2 separate regions of the Homo sapiens genome follow, and region 2 is linked to region 1. Evidence: promoter capture Hi-C in human tissues and cell types (Jung and others, 2019). All regions are on one chromosome and are shown on one strand. Each heading gives the region's core, a stretch centred on a gene start or on the middle of the fragment in contact. The rest is flanking DNA. Distances are from core to core; before and after follow the strand shown. Region 1 holds the start of HAPLN3 (hyaluronan and proteoglycan link protein 3). Region 2 has its middle 51 kb from the start of CARMAL.

What was found. The method cuts DNA at HindIII sites, captures the fragments that hold promoters and counts their contacts. A contact is called where the count stands out against the background at its distance.
Region 2: a fragment that was not itself captured here is called in contact with the fragment with the promoter of HAPLN3 in region 1 in 2 of the 25 tissues and cell types used here (IMR-90 fibroblasts and psoas muscle).

The regions. Positions count from the first base shown.
Region 1 is chr15:88,893,626-88,897,668 of GRCh38, forward strand. It overlaps HAPLN3 (hyaluronan and proteoglycan link protein 3), which reads right to left and starts at 1,919. Exons shown (of 5, transcript NM_178232.4): 1 at 1,834-1,919. RefSeq lists enhancers at 1,145-1,756, 3,753-4,043, 3,984-4,033. The HindIII fragment of the contact is 23,597 bases long and covers 1-4,043 here.
Region 2 is chr15:88,988,052-88,992,094 of GRCh38, forward strand. It overlaps the pseudogene LOC100129942. Among named protein-coding and RNA genes, the nearest start is that of CARMAL, 51 kb to the right of the region's middle. The HindIII fragment of the contact is 3,911 bases long and covers 1-3,716 here.

The sequences.
Region 1 (4,043 bases), core at 669-3,168:
TCTTTAAAATGGGGGTCACAAGCCAGGCACAGTGCCTCATGCCTGTTATCCCTGCACTTTGGGAGGCTGAGGTGGGCAGATCACCTGAGGTCAAGAGTTCAAGACTAGCCTGGCCAACACGGTGAAACCCCATCTCTACTAAAAATACAAAAATTAGCCGAGTGTGGTGATGAGCGCTTGTAGTCCCAGCTACTCGGGAGGCTGAAGCAGAAGAATCGCTTGAACCCAGGAGGCGGAGGTTGCAGTGAGCCGAGATTGAGCCATTGCACTCCAGTCTGGGCAAGAAGAGTGAGACTCCATCTCAAAAAAAAAAAAAAAGTTGGGGTGGGGGGGGCGGTCACGACAATACCAAACAGAAAACACTCTCGTGAAGATTAAGGGAGAGAATAGCTGCAGAGCACTGAAAATACTGCTTGATGCTTGATAAGGAGCAAGCACTGGGAAAATATGACCTGTTACTACTCTGGTGAGCAGTTCACACAGTGAAGTCTTACACCATCTCAGTGGCTCTTTCTCCTCTCTCACTGCCTACGAGACAAAGTGGTCACCACTGCCTCCTCTTCACAGTTGAGGAAACTGAGGCCAAGAGAGTGGAGGTCAGTGAACTACCCAAGGCGTTATCTTTGTCAAATATCTCGAACTTAGAGAAAGTTCAGGTTTCCTGATGACCAGCCCTTTGCTTTTCCCAGGCGCCCCAGCCTAGGGACCCCTCCACCCAAGAACAATAAGCCTGGGCTTGGAGGGAGGGTAGGTGCCACCTCCCTGCCAGGTGCATGTCCGCACTGGGCCTTCCGTGAGTACAAGTCCCCCAGGTACCAGCAGGAGGCAGCATCGCCCGCGAGGTCTGCACGAGCGCTGCTCCCAGCGAGAAATTTGACATCCCTGTCCCTGTTTGCACAAGGCTTGATCTCCGCCTTTGAAACCTGCAGCCCCCAGGAGAATGAAAACCGGAGGTGTTTCCCAATCCGCTGGCCCGGGCGGCGTCGAGGGAGAGAAGCCAGGGCCCCTCTCAATCGCTGCCCCCTACTCCAGGGAGCACAGGCACTCCCGCGGGTCAGCGCTGGACACCAAGGTCCCAACAGGTTTACAGGCTGCCTGTGGCCTGTGGCTGCCAACGAGCTGGTGGCAGGACTGGGTCCAAGTGCCGTGCTGTTTCCATACTGGCTGCGCACAAGCCTACGTTTCTCCCTGAGGGTCGCCATCTCCCACCCAGGGCTCTGCCCTCCACCCTCCCTACCCTTCTGGCCTCGCTGTCCCTGGGGCAAGAACCCCGGTGAGCGAGGTCTGGAACCCATAGGCATCAGTTGCCTTTGCCCCAGGCGCCCAGAGCCGGCCAGCTGCGGTCCAGAGGCGCAGGTCCGCCAGCCGCCTCGCAGGTTGCCCTCAGCCCCTCCCAGGACTCCCGGGGCCCCCGGAGCATCCAACAGATACCCAGGGGCAGGGCCTGGGGCGCCGCGGACGGCACTGGAGGCAGCCGACCCTGGACAGACGACAGGGGAGAGAGCCAAGCGGACCCTGGCAGGAAGGGGGCTGGAGGCGGACGGTGGTCTCGGAGGCCACGGGGTCCGCTCGGGCTCTGCTCCCTCACGGTGGGCACGAGGGTCCGGCGCCCGCATCCCCGCGCCGCTCCCTCCCCACTTGTGCCCCGGGCGCCCCTCGCCCGCGATCACAGCCCATCTCAGCCCGGGCCTCCGCAGTGCCCGGCCCACGCCTCCTGCCCCTTCCCCGGACCCTGCCCGGGAGGTGTGGGGACCCGCAGGGCACCCAAAGCGGTAAGGGAGGAACCCGGCCCGCACACAGCCCCAGAAGCCCAGCGACCCCTAAGCCACGTACCGTCCCCAGGCAGCTCCTCGACGGCTAGAGCTCTCGGGGGCCGCGAGCTGTCCCGGTCCAAGGCAGCAGTCTGATTTCGGGGAAATTAAAAGGGCAGAAAGGAAGCGGCAGCAGAAAAACCCCCGCGCTCCCGCCAGACCAGCCCCTTAAAGGAACACGCGCACCTTTCCCTCCCAAGGGCTGGGCTCGAAGGGAGGAGCTGCTGCAGGCTTGAGCGGTCTCCAGACTCGCTGGGAACCACCGCAAAGAGGGTGTGCAAGAGTTGAGGCCCTCACGTCTTGGGAAAGGAGAGTAGGGGTGGAATAGGAGAGTTTGGGGAGGGGGGATCCCCTTAGAAAGCCTGGTATACCAAAAACAGTGGGAGTAAGCAGGGGAAGCCCCTGTCCAGCATTCTGCTAGGGGCTAAGGCTGCTCCCCACCTTTGATTGTGGAAGGGGTGAGACTTCTGTATTACTTTCTTTTCCAAATAGAAAGCAAGGGGGTGAGGCCAGGTGCAGTGAGTGGCTCATGCTTGTAACCCCAGCACTTTGGGAGGTGGAGGCCGGTGGATCACCTGAGGTCAGGAGTTCAAGACCAGCCTGGGCAACATGGTGAAACCCTGTCCCTACTAAAAATACAAAATTAGCTGGGCGTGGTGGAGCATGCCTGTAATCCCAGCTACTTGGGAGGCTGAGGCAGGAGAATTGCTTGAACCCAGGAGGCGGAGGTTGCAGTGAGCTGAGATCATGCCATTGTGCTCCAGCCTGGGCAACAAGAGCAAAACTCCGTCTCAAAAAAAAAAAAAAAAAAAAAGCAAGGGGTTGCTGATGTCCTCATGCCCCTGAGTTTGGCCATCATGAAACACTGGCCAGATTCCCAACTCACTGTCAGGCACATAGCAGGTGCTATCCCCAGCACATGGGGCTTGAATGAGTGGCCCTGGCTGGGAGGGGAGACACAGGGTGGGATACCTCTGCAGCCTGCAGGGGCAATCAGGCTTCTGAGTGGTCCTCCAACAGGGGTGGGCCTCCCTTCGGAATCCTGCTAATCAGCACAGCCATCCAGGCAGCCGCTCAGGATGCCTCTGTTTGGACAGGGTGTTTTCTTTCCTGTCCAGACCAATGGGGGCCCTGGCCTGGACAGCCCGATGTTTCCTCAGCAGAAAAGACTAAGGAGGTCCTTCAGCTTTGGCTGGGGGAAGGGTCGAAGGGTCACAGGGTCACAGAGCTCAGAGCCTCTTCCTAAACACAGCTCAAGTTGGCCCATGAGTGTGTGTGTGTGTGTGCATGTGTGTGTGTTACACACAGCCAGGGGCACATTGGAGCACAAAGAACTGTGATCAACAGGTAAACTACACCTAAAAGGAACGCCAGGCTTGATGGGCAAAGGGGAGCCAAGGTAGGTCCCTCTGCAGGTTCCCGACAGGGGAGAGGATGGACAGTAGGGAGAGCACATTTTGCTACAGTTAAGTCGAGTTGAACATGCCAGCCAGGGGTAGGGGTAGCCAGCAGGTGGAATCTGAACGCTCACCCTCTGCCTTGCAGTGGGGCAGAAAAAAGTCAATGTGTAGGGGTGATGGTAAAAGCTGGGCAAATGGAAGACACTGCTGAGGGAGAGAAGCCAAGGAAGGAAGGAGGGGGTCAGGAGTGAGGGGACTCCACTCCAGGGTCCCAGGAGGGGGACTTTTAGAAGGCTGTGGCCAACCCATCCCAGAGCAGAGATGCTTCTCCCACTGTCTGCTTATCCCCAGGGTATGCTGGAACAGGGGTTCAGGGCAGGAAACTCCCCCGGGAGGGAGACCTGAGGCTTGGAAGCACGCAGAAAGGCTTGGCTCTAAACCCAATCCACACCGCTCCGCAGAAGAGAGCTCTGAAACGGGAGGCAGTAGGCCAAGGGACACCCAGGGGAAGGGAGTCCCCCATCCTCAGTTCCTACGAAGACCACGGCCTGGGCCTTTTATTCAGACCCTGCTAGGCCCAGGAGCCCAGCAACCGCAGGTCTCAGAAAGGAACCACTTCCAGACACATTTCCCTGATGTGGTTCCAGCAAAGCCACGCCCTCCCTTTGGCAGCCCTGTGGCCCCACCTCCTGCTGCTCAGAGGCGGCCCCACCTCCTGCTGCTCAGAGGCGGCCCCACCTCCTGCTGCTCAGATGCACCCCCTGCCTGCAGAACACAGCCGGCTCCCAAAGTTTGGAAAAATTCACCTTGACAAAGAGGGTGGTTTTTCCTA
Region 2 (4,043 bases), core at 511-3,010, 94 kb after region 1:
GCTTGCTTGGAAGGTTCCTGTAGCTATAAGCAGGTCGCTGAGAGCCCTCTCCCCAGACCCAGCACCCCCGCCCCTGTTCTCTTGCTGTTACCTGTCAACAGGCTTCCTGCTGTTACCGACCCCAGCGCAAGAGCCACAGAAGGCAGCTCTCTGAGGGCACCAGGCCAGGCAAGGCTGAGCATCCTCCCAGGGAGTGAGACATCAGCTTCCCAAAGAAAGGTCTTCGATTACTAGTCTCTTAAAAATGCTTCAAATAAAACAAAAGGGGTTCTACAGCTACAAACGTTTGAGGAATTTGGCTAACCCAAGTTCAACCCTCCCCCTCCTTTCCCTTCCCCCACCCATCTCAGAAACCTACAGTAACCTGCTAAGTTGGGACCACACAGTGGTTAAGGCATGGGTTTTGTTTTGAAGGCAATTTTCAAATACACACAAGGAGAATGATTAGTAAAATCAACTCTTTGGACCAAAGGAGTTAAGGACATAACACCCCAAAATACCCTGACCTGGCATATTGATTATTTCAAGCCGAAAGCATCTGAGAAGCAGCAGTTGTAGATAAGATAGGACCTTCTGAGCCACCCTTTTGTCACCTCCCCATGGGTTCTTCTTGCCTGCTGCTTAGATAGAGTAGATTTATCAAGGCAGGGGAATTGCAATAGAGAAAGAATTTTATAGACGTAGGGCCGGCTACACAGAAGATCGGAGTTTTTTTTCTTTTTTCTTTTTGAGTTCAGGATTATATATATTACAATTTGCCTTGTTATAATACATTTGTGGCTTTATGATAAAAATAACTCAGGGACATATGGAATTCAAGCTGATTTGCGTAACTGTCACAAGAAAAAAAGCATTAAATGCATTTCTGAAATAAGTATTTTCATTTAATTTCAGAATCTCAAAACAGCATTAGACCTTGCCTTGTTTAAAAAAAATTAAGTTAAATACTAAGCTAAATAACCTTCTTGAAAGGTTTAAAAACACAATTGATATAGAAAATGTTTTCCCTCTAATCTCAACCTTACATAAATGGAACAGGTGAGGAAGAAAAGGTAGACAATTTCTTTAGCAGCCTATATGGCTAAATCCATCAAACACTAACTGGGGAAATATCAAAAATTAACCATTTCATAAACCAAAAGATAACAATTTTAGGGTTACAGTAAGTAAAATATTTTTGAAACACTTCAAAAACTTTTAACCATAAACTAGAGAATCATCTCTTCATTGTACGAAAGAAAGGACTAACAGAAAGTAAGACATTTAAACTAAACTGATTTTCAATCCTCTTAGAACAAAATGAAAAATAATGGTGGATTAGCTAAGCTTTGTGCTCTAATCAAACTAATTACAGTGATTTAAAATGGCAACAGCCCATCAGACTGGGCAGCTTGACAGTTCAGAATACTTTTGCAATAGTTTTTTAACGCAAAGACACTAAAATGATGGGGTCATGCAATGTCCATCTTATGCATTCTGCATCTCTTTGCCAACCTCGTAGCTAAGGATCTTGTTCCAATCAATCTTAGTGCGTGTAAGTAGCAATTGTCGATGTAAGGCTTTGAAAGTAGTGTCCGACATTGTCTGATAATTCTCACTAATGGCAGTCTGGTATTCATTTTCTGCAGCTTTTACAATCTTTGTAGATTCTTTTGCTGTTTGCACTTCATTAGACACTGTTAGGGAATCTTGTATATCTTTATGACTCACTAGCTGAACATTACTGTCTTCATAATAATGAACCTGAATTTTCAAGATGCCAACCACTTGAGTGGTTGAAGGAGTGATTATAAACCTCCATTCTGACCTCCAATGACCATTCCAAAAGTTTTTTGCTTGGAACTGATGGCTTTCTATGCATGCAATAGTGGTTTGCTGTCCATCTATTTTTTTTTTTTGCTATACGCAGTGCAGACTCCATTCGGGTAATGTTCTTTTACGTAAGCTCACAGAGTAGTTTCTACTTAAGTTCTCCATGATTCAATTGCATTTTCTACTTCACAGGGTCTTGGATCAGTTGCCTCCTTTCTTAAGTGATCAAATTTAAAACAGATTCTGTTCTTTGGATCCTAAAACTTTCCATTTCCCAAGTCGCCATGTTTTGTCATCAATACCTGATCTTCATAACCTTCCATTTTTACAGGAGTAAACTGCTCCAAGTTATACTGTGCAGACGCACGGGCTGCTTTTTCCCTTCTCTTCATCAGACAGCTCCTCCTCCAGACCCGCCATCTTCCTTCTAGCAACAAACTGTGGCGGGGGCGGGGGCAGTGGCCACGTGACTTACCCCTTTCCGTGCGGTGCTCGGCGCCGCGCACCACCCCCGGAGTTTTATTATTACTTAAATCAGCCTCCTCAAAAATTGGAGGCTGAGGTTTTTCGAGGACAGTTTGGGGGAAGGGCGGGTGGCTGGGCAATGGGTGCTTGCTGCTGATTGGCTCGGGGTGCAATCATAGGGGTGTGGAAAATGGTCTTCGTGTAGTGAGTTGCTTCTGGGTGGGGCCACAGGAGCAGCTGGCCGGTCCTCGTGGAGTCATCGGTTGTCAGAAATGCAACAAGACATCTCAAAAGGCCAATCTTAGGTTCTGTCATAATGATGTTATCTGCAGGAATAACTGGGAAATTTGCATAGCTTTTTTTTCTTTTCTTCTCTCTCTTTTTTTTTTTTTGTTCTGCTCTGCTGCCAGGCTGGACTGCAGTGGTACTATCTCGGCTCACTGCAACCTCTGCCTCCCGGGTTCAAGCCATTCTCCCACCTCAGCCTCCCGAGTAGCTGGGATTACAGGTGTGTGCTACCATGCCTGGCTAATTTTTATATTTTTAGTAGAGATGGGGTTTCACCATGTTGGCCAGGCTGGTCTGGAACTCCTGACCTCAAGTGATCCTCTCGTCTCAGCCTCCCAAAGTGTTGGGATTACAGGCATGAGCCACTGCGCCCAACCCATATCTTTGTGTAAAATAATTTTTTTTTAAATAAATAGAGACAAGGTCTCAGTATATTGCCCAGGCTAGTCTCAAACTCCTGGGGTCAAGAGATCCTCCTGCCTTAGCCTCCCAAAGTCCTGGGATTACAGGTGTGAGTCACCGTATCTGGCTGGAATTGGCATATCTCATGACCTCCAGAATAATGGCTGCAGTCATTTATGTCTACACATCCAGTGGTCTCTCATTAGTGTTGTGGAAAAAACTGGGTTCTTTTCTCACAGTCATGACAGGCTCACAGACACTTTGAAGGGTGAGAAGGGTAGGATTTATTGGGTGAAAAGGAACAACAAAAAAAAGGGAACAGGGATTCTTAGCAAAGCAAGAGTCCTGCTAGCAGGCTTCCCGCCTCACAGATTGAATCCCAGGTTACCACCCAGGAACAGGAGAGGCCAGGTTCCTCTCCCCTGCAAAGGGCGCAAACTTCCCATGGCTCCAGCCCATTCTCCCCCCCACACCCCTGTTCTCCCAGTGCCTTCATAAAACTGATCATTCTTTGTCCAAAAGGCTTTCTGCTTTGGTCATTTCTTAGGTCTTCACTCTCTTGTGAAGATCCTCATGTGTATGTAAAATTAATAAAACTTGTAGCTGGGCTTGGTGGCTCACGCCTGTAATCCCAGCACTTTGGAAGGCCAAGACAGGAGGATCGCTTTAGCCTGGGAGATCAAGACCAGCCTGGGCAACATAGGGAGACTCTCTCTACAAAAAATGTAAATACTAGCTGGGTATGGCATGCCTGTAGTCCCAGCTGCTCGGGAGGTTAAGGTGGGAGGATTCCTTGAGCCCAGGAATTTGAGGCTGCCGTGAGCTGTGATCACACCACTGAACTCCAGCCTCGGTGACAGAGCTAGACTCCGTCTCAAAAACAACAAACAAACAACAAAAAACTTGAATGCTTTTCTCTTGTTAATCTTTCTTGTATTTAATTTGGTTCCTAAACCCAGCCAGATATTCCACTTCAGAACTAAGACAGTGTTAACCCAAAATTAGAGACTGAGCCAGGGGTCTCAGTTCATCGAGATTTGTTGAGTGAGAGTTTGAGGTCACACCCAGGAGAAACA